2 separate regions of the Homo sapiens genome follow, and region 2 is linked to region 1. Evidence: promoter capture Hi-C in 16 types of primary human blood cells and fetal thymus (Javierre and others, 2016). All regions are on one chromosome and are shown on one strand. Each heading gives the region's core, a stretch centred on a gene start or on the middle of the fragment in contact. The rest is flanking DNA. Distances are from core to core; before and after follow the strand shown. Region 1 holds the start of LURAP1L (leucine rich adaptor protein 1 like). Region 2 has its middle 43 kb from the start of SNORD137.

What was found. The method cuts DNA at HindIII sites, captures the fragments that hold promoters and counts their contacts. A CHiCAGO score of 5 or more calls a contact.
Region 2: a fragment that was not itself captured here is called in contact with the fragment with the promoter of LURAP1L in region 1 in 1 of 17 cell types (megakaryocytes); the score reaches 5.7 in megakaryocytes.

What each region holds. Positions count from the first base shown.
Region 1 is chr9:12,772,882-12,776,778 of GRCh38, reverse strand. It overlaps LURAP1L (leucine rich adaptor protein 1 like), which reads right to left and starts at 1,759. Exons shown (of 2, transcript NM_203403.2): 1 at 752-1,759. The coding sequence starts at 1,063. The region is part of intron 2 of LURAP1L-AS1 (LURAP1L antisense RNA 1); the gene reads left to right. The HindIII fragment of the contact is 1,821 bases long and covers 1,591-3,411 here.
Region 2 is chr9:13,013,828-13,017,572 of GRCh38, reverse strand. No RefSeq gene overlaps it. Among named protein-coding and RNA genes, the nearest start is that of SNORD137, 43 kb to the right of the region's middle. The HindIII fragment of the contact is 623 bases long and covers 1,400-2,022 here.

The sequences.
Region 1 (3,897 bases), core at 510-3,009:
GCAAACAGCAGGGAAAACAACTGCAGATTGAGACTTGAGGGAGAAGGGTGGGAGATGGTCCTTAGCAGATCCCTGGGCCTGGGGATCACCTGCTCCCTGGGATCAAAATAGTGAAACAAGCTATTCATAAGTACATCAAGGACGAGTAGGCCATTGTTTTCAGAACCAGCTGTGGAGAATCTGCTCGACAGTGGCCTTGGAACAGCTGCGGCTGCTGCACCAAGAAGGGAGGGCAGGAGGGCGGAGCGGTACTGGTGGAAGGGTGAGCTAGGAGGAAAGGCTGCAAGGACCCTGCCACGCCACCTCCCGGCAAACCAGGAAGTATTTTTGCAGTAAGTGCATTGGACTGAGCCACCTTTTGAACCTACCCGAAGTGTTAACAGCGCACAGCAGGCCTTAGATGGGTGCAATAACTGCAAACTCTCAACGGGCTGGTGCCTAAGAGGCTACGGGCTGGCAGCTAAATAGAGCCCGGCGCAGTGAGTCGCGTTGTCCGAAAGTACACAGAGTGGAGCCAGCCGACTGTGCTGTCTTTGCAAACCGTGACCGAGCAAAGTCCGCGGTAAACAAGCCTCGCAGCAGCTGCCTCCGGATGAGCGCCCCCTGCTCATTCCTCCACCCAGCATTTCCCACGCGCCCAGCGCTCCGCTCTGCAGCCCCTGCCGTCCTCTCTCCCAGCCCCATTCTCAGATCGCCCCATCTTTTGGCCCAGCCCAGGTCCCAGCCCCCGCGGCTGGCGCACCACACTCACCATCTCTTGCCTGAGGAGGTGAAGCTTGGTTTCTAGCCTCTCCAGGGCGCTAGAGTGGCTACCTCGTGGGGAGCCAGAGGTTGGGGAGGACGAAGAGGAGGACGACAAGGAGGGAGGGAAGCTGCAGTAGCTGCTGCTGCTACTGCAGCCGCCGCCGCCGCCGCCACCACCACCGCTCCCCCCGCAGGGGTCCCTGTCCCTTTCCCTGGGAACCGGCTCCTCCCCACGGAGAGAGCGCACTAGACTCTCGGGTACTTTGCGCCCCAGCTTCAGCTCGATGTCTCTGAGGTCTGGCAGCGGGCTGTCTTCCATGACTTTTCCGGAACGGCGATAATAGTAATAAAACGCAGCAGATGAAAGGCAGCCACGGCTTCGAAGGCTGCTGCGAAATCAGCAGACCTCTCCGGGGGCCAGGGTCTCTATCCTCCGCCGCTCCGGTGTACCGTCCTTTCCATAACCGCCTATGCGGTATCAGCCCTGAAATCCGCACAGGACGCGGGGGGTCGCAGCTGCAGTTCCCAGTCCGCTGCGACTCCTCCGACACTAAGATGATCAAGATCTCCTCATTCTCTCTCTTTTTGGCCACCTCACTGCAAAGTTGAGTTCACTGATATTGCAGACAGAGGGGGAATAAAGAGGGGGAAGTAGTGAAAGAAAAGAGAGGGAAATTAAATCTGTTTTAGCTTTACCAAGGGAAAATTTTCACATTATAAAACCGTCCGTTCACATCCCTGCGCCGCTCACTGACTGCCCATCTGGTACTACGCGACACAAAATAATGATGCAGCCAGAAACGATGTCCTGGGTCGTTTCATTTTCCAGCCATATGCCTCCAAGCTTTCGGGATATCCTGGGTTGTCAGAAATAATCTCTGGTCAGTGAAAGAGGAGTTCGGTCGTGTGCATGGACCCATAAAAAAGAGCTAGTTAGCTTAGCAGGAGTTTAACGGCTTCCTTGATGCAGCAAAAATGTCCTTCTTCCCATTTAGGCTGTTTGATCCAAGTCATTGTGTTCCTCTGAGCCTCGGAAACTTTAAACTCCGCTGGCAGGTGGACCAAACCAGGACCAACCCTTCTACCGTATATCACAGACAAGAAGAGCAACCGGAATTTTCCCAACCCTGTCGCTAGTAGCAGAGTTTCAAAGCCCTGCTTTAGTTAGGAATACCAGTTGATTTTTCAGTTTTCCTGACTAGCTACAACCTTTAAAACAGGTTTTAAAATGAGAGATAGAGGAATGACTTTATATTTGGTGTCTTCGTTTCCCATCTCTCTACCTTCCTCAAAGGAAAAACAAACAGAAAACCTCTCTTTAGAAGACTTTCCTAATAATTTTATTCTAATAAAAAGAGTGAAACAATTTCATCAAAAGTTCAATGGAAATGTACAATCAAAATTAATTATCCTACCAACTGTTACAGTATGCAAACAAAAGTGAAAAATTAAATAGCCAGAATAACTTACATGACTGCTGAGATAGCAGTGAAATTTTAAGAACAAGCAATTGCTGAGATACTTACTTTTATTTTAATTATGGAAGAAAAAATATTGGGAATAACTATTTAAAATGTTGTCTTCTTTGATAATTTATCTATAAATTAATTTATAGATTTTTTCAACTATACAAATTGTACAATTAATTGTATAGTTGAACAATTGTACAATTTATTAATTTGTACAATTGTACAATTCATTAATCTGAAATACTTCTACCAAGTAAGTTATTATGAGCTACATGGATTACAGATCTGAATCAGCATTGAGTTTGTGTCAAAAATGTTTAAGTAGAGGATACTAATTTCAATCCAGTAAACTACAATTTTTGATTTCCATTGAAATATTTCAAAGTATGTGCCCCTCTATTTCTGTGACATATAAGTATTTGTGTTCCTGGTCACTCCGAGGCTCCATTTCCAGAGACATCATTCAGGTTTTACACTTGTAGGAACATAGGTATATACATCTCAGAGTTTGTTTTTATCATATCTGACTCTAGGAAACCTTATACGTAGAGGAAACATACGCATTCTAAATGAAATATTTCATGTCAGGGAAAAAATGCTGAACTTTCTATCAACATGCCAGAAATTTGCATGCTATTTCTCCCTTTTAAAAAGAAATGAAGAAAATAGTTATAAGTTAGATGACCCATTTCAAAGTTAGAACTACCACTTACAGAATCAAGGGAAAACAAGACCAAATCCCAGCTAACTGATAAAACTACATGCTTGGTCCTAAATTTGGAAAAACACAAGCTCGTTGCATAAGAATTGCACTGTGGCATGTAATTATGAAAGGCTTGTGTTTCAGTCAAGAACAGTTTATTATTACAAAACCCTTACAAAGTTCAGCATAAGGCTGGCTAAGTGCAGTTTATAGATGAAATATCTAGCTAGAAATTGGTCAGTAAAAAACAAATGTCAAATTATCGTGTGTCAATATAGAAAAATGGGACACCTCTTCTGCTATGAATCACAGACTGCAAAATCAGTATTTGAGGCTGAGGATAATTTAATATATACGTATATGTATGTATATATGTATATAGTTTTTTAAAGAAGTCTGCAGGAGAAACTCCTCTGAGAGTAAAAGTGTGATGTATATGCAAAGTAACTTTGTTCCAGTGAAATATAAAAAAATGTAAACTTTTGAAGGAAAGCTTAGTATGTCAAGCTTTAAATTTTTTTTCGGTTAAATGCCTATTGACATTTTAGTTTAAAATGAAGACATTTTGAATGATGCTTTAGCTAGTTTTCAGAATATATTAAAATCATTGAATGTTTATGGATCTATAATAGATTGTTGTTAATGCTACCATAACTGCTTTATGTGGTTTAATCTGAGGACATTTCTTACTCAAACTATTTGAAAACTTTTTTTTTTTACTTTGGTTCTTGAGCATGTGTTTTGTTTGTTTGTTTTCAAGATTCTCAAGAAACTGAGTCAGCCTGGGCAATATAGCGAGACCCCACCTCTTCAAAAAATTTAAAAATTAGCCAAGCATGGTGGCATGCACTTGTAGTCTTAGCTAAGGGGTTAGGGGTGAGGGAGTGAGGCCAGAAGATTGCTTGAGTCCAGGGGTTCGGGGTTGCAGTAAGCTATTATCAAGCCACTGCCCTTTAGTCTTTGAGACAGAGTGAGAAACTG
Region 2 (3,745 bases), core at 462-2,961, 240 kb before region 1:
GGTTTAAGCCACTAACTTTGTGGTAATCTGTTACTACAAAGCTATGGGAAGCTAATGTAGAGTTTTTGGCAGCATTAAATAAAAGATATGTTCTGTTCTCAAGGAGTTTAGAATCAATGAGGTTAGAAAAACAGCACTCAATTAACCTAAAAAAGTAATTCTTTATTAGAGGGGTAAGTTGACAAAGAGCTATGACAAAAGAACAAACATGCAATTACTTCTAGTGAATTCTAAGACATTATGATATAGATGGCATTAATACTGGGCCCTGAAGCCAAATACAGTTCATTTGAACTAAGATTATTTTAAAATTTCAGTGACAAAACCCATAAGTGCATGATCAGTACATTATAACTTCTCTCCTACTCAAATGAAACTAGTGTATAGTGTATGTATAAAAAACAGAGATCAAAATTGAAAGGAAATATCCTTTGTAAGATGCTAGGCAGGTCTATGAGTAATGATCACTATGTCCAGTGATAAAAGTATGGCTGTCTATCAAACCTTCACATTAAAAAATTCTCAAAATGTATAGAACAGATTAAAAAATCACATTTCTTTCCAATTTGATTTAAATTTTAGTTTCCTTTCCCCCTAAAGTTGTGAAAATGCACATTTGACATTATTAAACCTGAAACTGATTTTTCCTACCCTATCTAACTTTTGGATTATTTCAATATTTTTTATGGCTATTTAAGTTTTCTTTACAGGAAAGGAGAACGGGCTATATATTTACTGAAAAATAAAATCAAATATGAATGACCACATTTGTGGAGGAGGAATCAAATTCAGATTAATAATAAGTTAAGAAGCATTACTTTCTAATCTTCAGGCTGAGGGACTCCTGTTTTGTTGAAATGCTGGGACAGAAAATTCTGTAATGGCGAATTCACAAAGAGTTATGAGCACGGAGTGCTGCCTTCCTGCCACCTTCCAGGGCTGCTTTCTGGTCATATCTGTCAGCTAAATTCCTAGTATATTAAGCTGATCCTTTTCAGAAAGGATTTAACAAGTAATATGCTTAGCTTAAATAGTGCCAACATAGCATTGCACACGGAAATTCCCAGCAATTCTGAGACAAATTTGGGTTGGGTAAGATAAAAAGATATAAGTCAAAATTCCTCAGAAACTATTACCAAGAAAAAACACCACTGCTCCAAAACAAAAAGAAAACAAAGCACATTAGCTCTGGTAGACACTATGATGCTTACCAATATCCAGTTCTCTTTTCTTCTGGGGCTTAGGGGAAACTACCCCTCCTAGCACCCTTGCAGTTGTGTGTGGCCTTTGACTAGTTTTTGTGCATGAAATGTGAACAGAAACATCTCTGTGAGATTTTCCAGTATTCTCACTCTTCCACTAAAAGGTGTTCTGAAACTACATTTTCCATAGTGAAGCTTCCATCAGTTGGAGATTGTGTGGAGTAGGGCAAAATACAATGTATTGGACACTCAGAGTTAACAATAAATGTAACTTCATTGTATTAAGACCCTTAGATATCACAGTTAAATTGTTACTGCAATATAACCTAGGTTATTCTAAGGAACATACCAGTTAACCAAAAGAAACAGACACAAAAATTATATGTAAAACAAACCAGAAAGAAATTCGTTTGAGTTTAGTGTGACTGCATATTTTTTCTGTTTTAGGTTTGAACATATATACACACTACTTTTATGAATGAAAAAATTATACTCTAAAAAGAGATTATCTATAAAATCCTCCTGAGTTTAAAGGGAAAACAACCACTTTTTATTCTTAGATATTTGCATTCCCTCTTCCAGTCATAATCCTGGATGTTTACAAATAGAATAAACTCTAAAGGTAAGCTGGTTTTTATCCATCATAAAATTTTAGATTTCCTATTGGTGGCTTCCTCCATGTAGTTCCTTACTTTATTCCTTCTTTCCTTCAATCTTATGTTATTTCCCAGCACGTTGACACTCAGATTATTTCGTTAGTTCTGCAATAATGTTTTATATGATGAATAGAGGGAATTGTTTGAAACTAGTTATTGAAGCTTGTCTTGATCTTATTCTAAGTCATGGAAAATCCCTCTGAGTTCTCTGCTAAGGGGCCTGGCATCACGTGAAGCTTTGCTACTTGCCTGGAAACAGCAATTTCACCTTTGAGTAAGAATAATCAGCAGTTTATGAATGTTTGTACATCTCTGTGTACGTGTGTGGGTGTGCCTGTGTGTGTTTGTACATGCATGTATGATGGAACATCTTGGATTTTGTAAAACAATACAATTTCAACACTCCCTCCATAGTTGACAAATGCTCTGTATTTCCCCTCCATCCCCAACTTGTCATTTCTATCTTTTTAGGTTAAAAGAGTGAGTTGTATTAAAAATTAAGTTTTAATTGTTAAATATGTAAAATGTAGCAGACATTTAAGTAGCCACCATTAGTATCTGGAAGCTATAAACACTTTCTCCAAATCCGTGAAAAATTACAAACAAGCCAATAGAAAAATTGACAAAAAACATGAATAAGTAATCTACAAATGAAGAAACTAGAATTCTCATTATACATATAAAACAATGTTTAATTTCACTAGTAATTAGAAGAATGCAACAGATAAGTATCATTTTGTAGCCATGAAGTTAGACATAATGATAAAATCTAATAAGGCTTAGCACCCCAAAACAACCAAACTCTAATACATTGTTATTAGGAGTGAATATTGGCACAACAAAGTGAAAGAAAAAGTTGGAATTATTTAGTGTTATGGGTTGAACTATGTTCACCCCAGAAAAGGCATGTTGAAATCCTTATCTCCAGTACCTCATAATGTGACCTTATTTGGAAATACAGTCATTGCAGATACAATTAGTTAATATGATGCCATACCAGTTTAGGGTGGGCCCCTAATCCAATAGGACTGATGTCCACATAAGAAGATGGCTGTGTACAGATACAAAGACCCAGGGAGAATGCTATGTGAAGAAGGAGGTGGAGATTGGAGTTATGCTTCCTCAAGCAAGGAATGTCTGTGGTTACCAGAAGTGGGAAGAGGCAAGACAGCATCCTTCCTCCCTACTAGAGTGTTTGCAGGAGGAATGACTCTGCCAACACGTTGATTTTGGATCTCTATCCTCCCCCAAAATGGGACAATACATTTCTTTTCCATTAGGTCCCCAAGTTTGAGATATTTTGTTGTGGTAGACCTAGGAAACTAATACATCTAGTTAAGCTAAAAATATGCATACTGATGATTCACAATTCTATCCACCCTAAACAAATTCTCCCACATTAACACAAAGAACCCAGTGAGTGCAACTTAGGGTCTTTCAAAAGTATTCTATGGACCTCATGGTAGATGTTTCTGTGTATGTATAGTAGGATGGGGTGGAGAGTGGTAAGCTAATGTGGTTGTTGGCCCCTCATCCTGGCTTCAACCACAGTTATTTGTTTTTAGTTCTGCTTAAGACTTCCCTTGAATAAAGAATTCCATGACTAAAAGGAAACTTGAAAGCAAGTGGAATAAGAAGACATTCTTTTCTAAAGTGATGACATTTCCTTTTAGAAAACTCTTTGATCTAATTTAAAGCTTTTTCTCTTTGTACCTCCTTTTTCGGTGTTATTATTTTATCTATGTATCTTATATACAATATTTTTATTTTAGTGAATTTTTTCCCCTTCTGATATTTTTACTCTTATATAGGTTTAATTTTATTGTTGACATAAGTTAGCAATAGTAATTTATCTGTCCTATCAATCAAGACTTCATCTGTCACATT